Regions from separate parts of the Homo sapiens genome. Here region 2 is linked to region 1. The links are contacts of gene promoters, found by promoter capture Hi-C in blood cells and fetal thymus (Javierre and others, 2016). All regions are on one chromosome and are shown on one strand. The core of a region is centred on a gene start or on the middle of the fragment in contact, and the rest is flanking DNA. Distances in the headings are between cores, read along the strand shown. Region 1 holds the start of SLC9A7 (solute carrier family 9 member A7). Region 2 overlaps JADE3 (jade family PHD finger 3).

Region 1 (4,448 bases), core at 1,232-3,731:
AAATATGTAGAGATAATGGAGTGTTTTCTTTGGTGTGTATTTGTGAATGGTTGGGACTAGTCTTTTCATACTCTACCCAAGGGAACTACTTTACATAATAAATACTCTTCTGGTTATCTATTGCTGTGGAAGAAACCACCCTCAAACTTAGTAGCTTAAAATAACACCAATCATTTTATTATGCTACAGTTGCAGATGTTGGTTAGGTTCAGCGACATGGTTCTTGCTTGGGGCCTCTCATATGTCTACAGTAAGATGGTGGCTGGGAATGAATTGATTTGAAGACTCATTCATTCACATGTGTGGCATTTGGGCTGGGAACACTCAAAAAGTTGGGTCTCCTGTGGCATCTACCTCTATTGCTACATGGTCTCTCTACATGGTTTCTTCAGTATGTCAGCTTCCAGGTAGCTAGATTTCTTTGTCTGTTTGTTTGTTTTTTTGTTTTTGGAGGCAGGGTCTCACTCTGTCACTCAGGCTGGAGTGCAGTGGTGCAATCTTGGCTCACTGCAACCTCTGCCTCCCAGGTTCAAGTGATTCTCGTGCCACCACCTCCCAAGTAGCTGGGATTACAGGCACACACCACCACACCCGGCTAATTTTTGTATTTTTAGTGGAGACAGGGTTTTGCCATGTTGGTCAGGCTGGTCTTGAACTCCTGACCTCAGGTGATCCGCCCGCCTTGGCCTCCCAAAGTGCTGGGATTACAGGCGTGAGCCACCGTGCCCAGCCTAGCTAGAGTGGAAAGTGACAGAATGAAACAGGCAGGAGCTAGATTACCTTTTATGACCTAGCCTCACAAATCACATAATCTCCATTACCACATTATATTCTTTGAGGGAGTCACAAAGGTCCACTGAGGTTCAAGGGGAGGGAACATAGATGCCCCTTCTTGATGGGGGATGGTAAGGTTCTGGGATTGGAAATATGATTGTGGCCATCTTTTTAAAAAATACAATCCGCCACAAATACTAAGAAGTCTGTACTTTTAAGGTAGCTCCTGAGTTGCCCTTTTCTAAAGAGAGAAATTCTGTCCTTGAGTACTGGGCACCCAAAGGGGCATAATATTATGACCAACACAGTGCCCATCCAGGTTTTAAGTATTTGCAATTTTATTGGAAACCTGTGTGGAACTTCAAGGTATACGGATGTTTGCAGGGGCTGAGTGACTGCCTAGAGGAGTTGGGAAAGGGGCTAGCTAAAATGTAGATGAAGAGATTTCCCTGCTTTAAAGAAACCACTAAACAGCTTTGGCAGAGTGCTCACCTACAGGGGAACCAGGAAGGCTGCAGTACTCCAAAGAGTTTTCTTACCTAATGCTACCTCTACCCTATTATTTCATTTGGTTAAGCATCACCTTCTTCAATGAATCCTCTTAAAAATGCAAACTCCCCTGGGAGCGAAAACATGGGCAGTTTTGGTAGAGATTTCAGAGTGGTTCAATAAACACATGAGTACAGTGCTAAGCACTGGGAACTCAGTGATTAATCTGATCTTGTTTCTTCCTTGACCAGAGGAGCAAGGTGGATTGAAGATTCTAGTTTTCCTGAGAATTTGTTCCAAGAGGCTTCATCCTTCAGAGTCCACGCCATAATTTTGTTCAGAGCTGGGTTTGGTCTTAAGAGTCATTAAAAGACTCTCTGAGCTACCAGGTGAGCAACATAAAAGAAAGGGTCATCAGGGTAACCCCCACCCCCCACCACCACCTTAGGACCAGCTACTGCTCATCTACCAGGAATGGCAAGCGTTCAGTTCCTTCTGGTTCAACCCTATTCCCCAAGGGGATTAGTAGCACAGCGCAGACGAAGTCTATTCCCTCAAGTGAGGAAGGAGATACTTCAATGCCCTCCCCCGATTCCAACTCCTTATCAGTCCTCACATTTGAGTCTGATGAGAACAGAGGTTTGAATGAAACCTAGCAGATTCTGGGGCTGGAAGGGCAACCTGAGAGATGAGGAAAGAGAGGTGTAGGGGCTAACGTGGCTTCGGGGCTGCTCGGTTCACTGACAGCCCCCACTTTACTGGGCCCAGGGCGGCTGCACACTGGCCTGAGATTAAACACTTCGCCGTGGCGCCAGAGACGGGACTCGAGACCGCAAGGCTAGTCACTCCAAGCCGATGCTCCCGCTAGGCGCCGGCGACCTCTGGCGTCCCCTTTCGGAAGTGCGGCGGCGGCTGCCCATGAACTGGCCCCACGACCCCAGACTGCCTGGGCAGGTGCGCCAGGACGGGGTGAGAAGCGCAGAGAGGCAAGCAGCCGGCGGCCGGCCCGCAGACCCGAGGGCAACACCCGGCCCCGCCTGGGTGGCTCGGTTGGCCCGCGGGGCGGTGCGGCGTGGCGCGGCCGGGGGACGAACAGGTGCGCGGGCGGGGGGCGGTGCTTGGGGATCCTGCGCACTGCGCGCGCCCCTCCCCCGCGCGGCCCCGGGCGCAGCCCCGGCCCGGCGCGAGTAGGAGGAGGAGCTGCAGCGGCCACGGCCACTCCGGCAGGTCCGCGGTGCTGCCAGAACCCGCCGACGGCGCGGGCTGCTGGTCCCCGCTCGGAGGAGGCGCGGGGGGCCCCGGGACCATGGAGCCTGGTGACGCGGCGCGCCCTGGCTCGGGTCGGGCTACCGGGGCGCCGCCGCCGCGGCTGCTGCTGCTGCCGCTGCTGCTGGGTTGGGGGCTGCGAGTCGCGGCCGCGGCCTCGGCCTCCTCCTCTGGGGCGGCGGCGGAGGACAGCAGCGCCATGGAGGAGCTCGCTACTGAGAAGGAGGCGGAGGAGAGCCACCGGCAAGACAGCGTGAGCCTGCTCACCTTCATCCTGCTGCTCACGCTCACCATCCTCACCATCTGGCTCTTCAAGCACCGCCGGGTGCGCTTTCTGCACGAGACCGGGCTGGCCATGATCTATGGTGAGCACCCCTGTTACACCCCCCGCCCTCCACACCCCTCGGCCGCCGCGCTCCTCCTGGCGCCGCGCGGTGCTCCCCCTTCACTTGCCAACGTGTTCCGTTTCTTTTACGTTTCCCGCTGCGACGGTGTTGGTTCCCAAGGTCAACTGTCTGCATTTTCTGGCTCTCTGCTACCGTTAAAAACAATTCCACCCCTATTCCACGTTTCTGCATTGGGAACCCAGGAAAATGAAAGGGACAGAGGTGGTCCGGTTCCGTCTGCCCCGTTCGGTCTCTGTTGCAAACCTCTTACCCACCACCTCCCGCTCCAGTTGAGCTCGATAGGGTGTGTGTGCCTGCGTGGTGGCTGGAGGTGGGTGGCTTCCCAGGTGACTGCATCACCTCAGGGGACAGGCCACAGTAGGGAGTGGGGACGAAGTCTGAAAGTGTCTTTGCTTGGGTATGGGTTAGTGGGGCCTCTTGGACGCCACATCCATGGTCAGCCTGGGTGGGTACCCACTCCTGAGGTCCACATTCCCAGGTCTCTTAATGATAAAGTCAGAGCATGAAGTGTGGTGAAAGGTGAGCAGTGGTCCAGGACCCAGAGTGGGTGGCACCACCATGTCAGGCCTGGACGAGGAGACAGGCACGCCTCCTGCTCTTATGTCCCGAGTGGAAAGTTATACCCAGTTACTTGCTTTCTCAAACGAAGAGGAGCTTTTGTATTCCTAAGACGGTAACAGGGAGTGAGTTTGAGATACATTTCCGAATGTATGAAGGGGAAAAGTCGTGGTTTTAATTCCGGAGTCAGCCATCTTTTGTTGTTAGGGGTGGGCTGATGCTACCATCCTTTTCTAGATTTAATGGTACACAGTGTGTTACATGCACAGTGGTCAGTACAAATCTCCCTTTATTACATGGATGTCAGCCATAATCTGAGTCATCCCTCTTCCTCTTCTGTGCCCCCTGCCTCCCCCCTCGCCCTGCCCATGACTCCAAAGTGGAGTCAGGTATTCTCTTTTTGAATGTAATTCAGTGGTGTTAAAGCCCCTGAATTGGCATCCTCACACGAAATAGACGAGCCACTTCATGATTGTTCCCAACGGGGAAAATTTTATTTTATCACATATACTGAGGGATTTCTTTATTCAGTTTCCATCCAGGTGCCCTGATAGAGAATGGAAAGCAGAAACCTTAACCTTTAATGTGAAAATTACCCTTGGTTCTGGGCCTTGCTTCTCATGTTTCTTGATTAGTTGTTGACAGCCGGGGCTCATGGCCACCAGGCCCTCGCAGCCAAACCGTGTAAGGGGCAAGCGCTGTTAAGAGCCCTCCAGTTTTGATGAAGTAGTGACCTACACAGATCTTGAAACAGGACCAGGTCTAAAACCGAGTTTGGTGATTGCGAATTATAGGTCTCAACACAGACTTTGGCCTCCATCCCTGACCGTTGTTGAGCTCTGTGGTTTGTGTCAGTTGGTGATAAATGACTGATGCCAGGCCTGCAGGTAAGCTGGGAGGTTTCCTGAGAAGACAGACAGGGGGGAATTGAAGCACGTGGTCATTGCAGGTGAT
Region 2 (4,128 bases), core at 12-2,511, 220 kb before region 1:
GCATAGAATAGGGGGCTTCAATTCTCCTGCAATGAAACTGACTTCATTTGCAACTGAGTGTACAGAAGTTCAAGCCTAGGCTGCCTAATATGCCAGAGAGAACCAGAGAAAGAGACAGCAGGGAAAGAGCCTCTTGCGGTCAGAAGAAATCTCAAACACAGATCTCAGGAACTATCTTCAAAGGAGCCCTAATTTGATTGGATCAGTTTGTGGAGCAATTTATATTCCAGGACATGATTAAAACAACAGAGCAGCTGGGAATGGTGGCAGGCGCCTGTAATCTCAGCTACTCGGGAGGCTGAGTCAGGAGAACTGCTTGAACCCGGGAGGTGGAGGTTGCAGTGAGCTGAGATCGCGCCACTGCACTCCAGCCTGGGCGACAAGAGTGAAACTCCATCTCAAAAAAACAAAAACAAAACAAGAGCAACCAGTCAACAATTAGTAGACCATAACAGCATGGTGTGGTCAAGTAAAGAGACAGCCAAGGAGAGCCTCACCAAACCCACTGTCATCCCAGGGTGACTGTGGGCATACACAAGCTTGTACCCCCGAAGAGCAACATTAGAGGCTTCATACTGCAGGGTGAGAATGGGGGTTGAGGAAATAGACTTCAATAAAATAATCCAGGCAGTTACTAAAGCAGTAAACAAGCAAATAATAATAAAGAACCCTGGTGGAGGGGTAGTACCCACAATTGTTACAATATATTATCCAAAATGCCCAGTTTCCAACAAAAACTTAAGAGATATGCAAAGAAACAGGAAAGTATGACCCATACAACCACATGTCAGATTTAACAGGCAAAACCTTCAAATTAGCCATATAAATATGTTCGAAGAACTAAAGAAAACCATGATTAAAGAAGTAAAGGAAGGTATGATGACAATATTTTACAAAACAGAGACTATCAATAAAGAAATAGGAAGTATAAAAAATAACCAAATAGAAATTCTGGTGATGAAAGCACAATTGAAATGAAAAATTCACTGAAGGGCCTCAACAGTAGATTGAACAAGCAGAAAAAAGAATTAATGAACTTGAAGTAGGTCAACAGTGATTAGGCAAGTTGAAGAACAGATGGAAAAAAGAAGAAGAAACAGCCTCAGAGAAATGTAGAACATCATTAAGTTCATCAACATATACATAATGGGAGTACCAAAAGGAAAAGTGAATGAGAAAGGAGCAGAAAAAATATTAGAAAAACTCCCCAAATTTACTGAAAAACATTAATTTACATATTCAGGAAACTCAAAGAACTCCAAGTAGGATAAATGCAAAGAGATCCAGAAAGAGATTCCTCATAGTAAAATTACTGAAAGCCAAAGACAAGGAGAAAATCTTGAAAGCAGCCCGGGAAAAAAAACAACTCATCACTTACAAGAGAACTCCAATAAAATTAACAGCTAATTTCTCAGAAACAAAATTAGAAGACAGTGTGAAAACATATTGTGTCCTTTGGTGATTGGTTGCACATATCTGTGAATATATTAAAATAACTGAATTGTATACTTTAAGTGGGTAAGCTGCATGGTATACAAATTATATCTCAAAGCTGTCATTTAAAAAACTAATAAAATTAGTACAAGAATCAGAACCATTAACTAAGGTTCTGTTTGTCCTACAGTCAAAGTCAATTGAATATTTTTAAAAAAGAGCCTCCCATCACATAAATTTTTGGGGCTACATTTGGCTCTCTGGTGCAAAATTTCATTCAAATCTCTTCTGAAACGCAAACAAAACCAACAGTAACAACAAGACACTTCCTATTAAAAAGTAGTAGTGGGGAATTTAAAGTCACAATGAATGTAGAAATTTAAGCAGAAATAAAAGTAATACATTTTCTAACTATTCCCCACTGAATGCACAGATCTACTTAGAGTAGCACTTCATTTATCTGATATCATGGGGATGTTGCATATATAAAAATTGTTCAGATACACAGTATACCCAAATGTATAAAATCCTATTTTAATAGAAGCTTTTCTAAAACACCTATTAGTTTTCTAACGTTACAGTAACAAATTATCACAAACTCAGTGGCTTAAAACTACATAAATTTACTATCTTATAGTTTAGTGGGTCAGGATTTTGACACAGGTCTCACAGAGCTAAAATCAAGATGTCATCAGGACTGCGTTCCTTTCTAGAGGCTACAGGGGAGAACTCATTTCCTTGCCTATTACAGCTTTTAGAGGACACTCTTACTCCCTTGATCTTGGCTGTCTTCTTCCATCTTCAAGGCAAACAACACTGAATCTCTCTGATCCTGTTTCTGTCATCGCATCTCATTCTCTGACCCTTCTGTTCTGCTTCCCTCTTCCACTTTTAAGAACCCATGTAATTACATTGGACCCACCCAGATAATCCAGGATAATGTCCCTATTTTATAGTCAGCTAAATAGCAATCTTAACATATTCATAGGTTGCAGAGATTAGGACACGGACATCTCTGCCTACCACAACCTAATATACAAAATGTAACTCAAAATGGATCACAGACTTAAATGAAAAATGTAAAATTATAAAATATTTACAAAAAGCATAAGAGAAAGTCTTCAGGATCTAGGGCTAAGCAAAGAGTTCTCAGACTTGATACCTAAAGCATGATTGGCAAAGAAAAATGTGTTTTCATCAAAATTAAAGACTTTTGCTCTCAGAAGCATATCCAGGGCAACTTGAATCTATGCTGCTGGGTTGTGGTCTTCAAACTTGGCCCAAATAAACTATCTACTTATATTTTTAAAAAAACTTCTGCTCTGAGAAAGCCCCTGTTAAGAAGACGCAAAAGCAAGCAGAATGGGACAGAATATTTACACATATTACACACACGTGTAATATCAAATGCTGGAGAAGATGTGAAGAAACTATCACTCATACATTGCTGGTGGGAATGTAAAAAGGAATCGCTATTCTAGAAAATATTTTGGTCATTTCTTAGAAATATTATACATGTAATATTTATTATAAAACACATATCTGACAATGAACTTATATTACAGAATGCATAAGGAACTCTAAAAATTCAACAGTAAGGAAACAAATGACCTAATTAAAAATCAAGAGATGGGCCGGGCATGGTGGCTCGCACCTGTAATCCCAGCACTTTGGGAGGCTAAGGCGGACGGATCATTTGAGGTCAGGAGTTCGAGACCAGCCTGGCCAACATGGTGAAACCCCGTCTGTACTAAAAATACAAAAATTAGCTGGGTGTGGTGGCATGCACCTGTAATCCCAGCTACTCGGGAGGCTGAGGCATGAGAATTGCTTGAACCTGGGAGGCGGAGGTTGCAGTGAGCCTAGATTGCATCACTGTACTCCAGCCTGGGTGACAGCGAGACTCTGTCTCAAAAAAAAAAAAAAAAAAAAAAAAAATCAGCAGACATTTTACCAAAGAGGAACGCAAATGGCATTTAAGCCCGTGAAAAGACATTCAGTATCACCAGCCATTAGGGAAATGCCAGTTAAAACCACAAGATATTATTACATACTTATTATTACAATAGCTGAAATAAAGAAATAGTGAAAATATCAAATCATGGAGAAAGTGTAGAGAAACTATATCACTCGTACATGGCTTGTGGGAATGTAAAATAGTATAGCTATTCTAGAAAATATTTCGGTCATTTCTTTAAAAATTAAATATGCAACTATGACTCAGCAATTGCACTCCTGGGCATTTATCCCAGAGAAATGAAAGTTTATGTTCCCACTGAATATAACCTCCATATGGATGACTCATGATGGGATCAAGGGCAACAAATGTCATAGAAAAAACAGTTTTATTCTCTAAAAATCTCAGTGAAGAAAGCCAACTGACCATGGACCCTCTCTCCTCACCTCCCTGAGAGTTTCAGAAGACCTAAGACTTCTTGTGAGATGGATACTCCTCTCATCTGAAGTTCTGGGTATGTGTACTTTGGATAAAACAGTTTCTCCATTTTCTATAATATTCTGTTCTTTAAGTAAAAGAGTTATCAAACTGTTCTTGACAGAGGGAGATTTTAAAGAATAGGCAAAATTTGGCATTTTTAAAACAATTACAGTAACAACTATTTTTTATTATAGATGGAAACAAAAAATCTTGTATTATCAGTAAAAAGCCTAGGAAACAGATTATCTAATACGAGT

Evidence for each region. Contacts are between HindIII fragments. The CHiCAGO score rates a contact against its expected background, and 5 or more counts as called.
Region 2: a fragment that was not itself captured here is called in contact with the fragment with the promoter of SLC9A7 in region 1 in 1 of 17 cell types (neutrophils); the score reaches 5.4 in neutrophils.

The regions. Positions count from the first base shown.
Region 1 is chrX:46,757,151-46,761,598 of GRCh38, reverse strand. It overlaps SLC9A7 (solute carrier family 9 member A7), which reads left to right and starts at 2,481. Exons shown (of 17, transcript NM_001257291.2): 1 at 2,481-2,894. The coding sequence starts at 2,570. RefSeq lists silencers at 2,200-2,549, 2,570-2,709. The HindIII fragment of the contact is 14,531 bases long and covers 1-4,448 here.
Region 2 is chrX:46,979,118-46,983,245 of GRCh38, reverse strand. The region is part of intron 1 of JADE3 (jade family PHD finger 3); the gene reads right to left. Among named protein-coding and RNA genes, the nearest start is that of JADE3, 69 kb to the right of the region's middle. The HindIII fragment of the contact is 1,439 bases long and covers 542-1,980 here.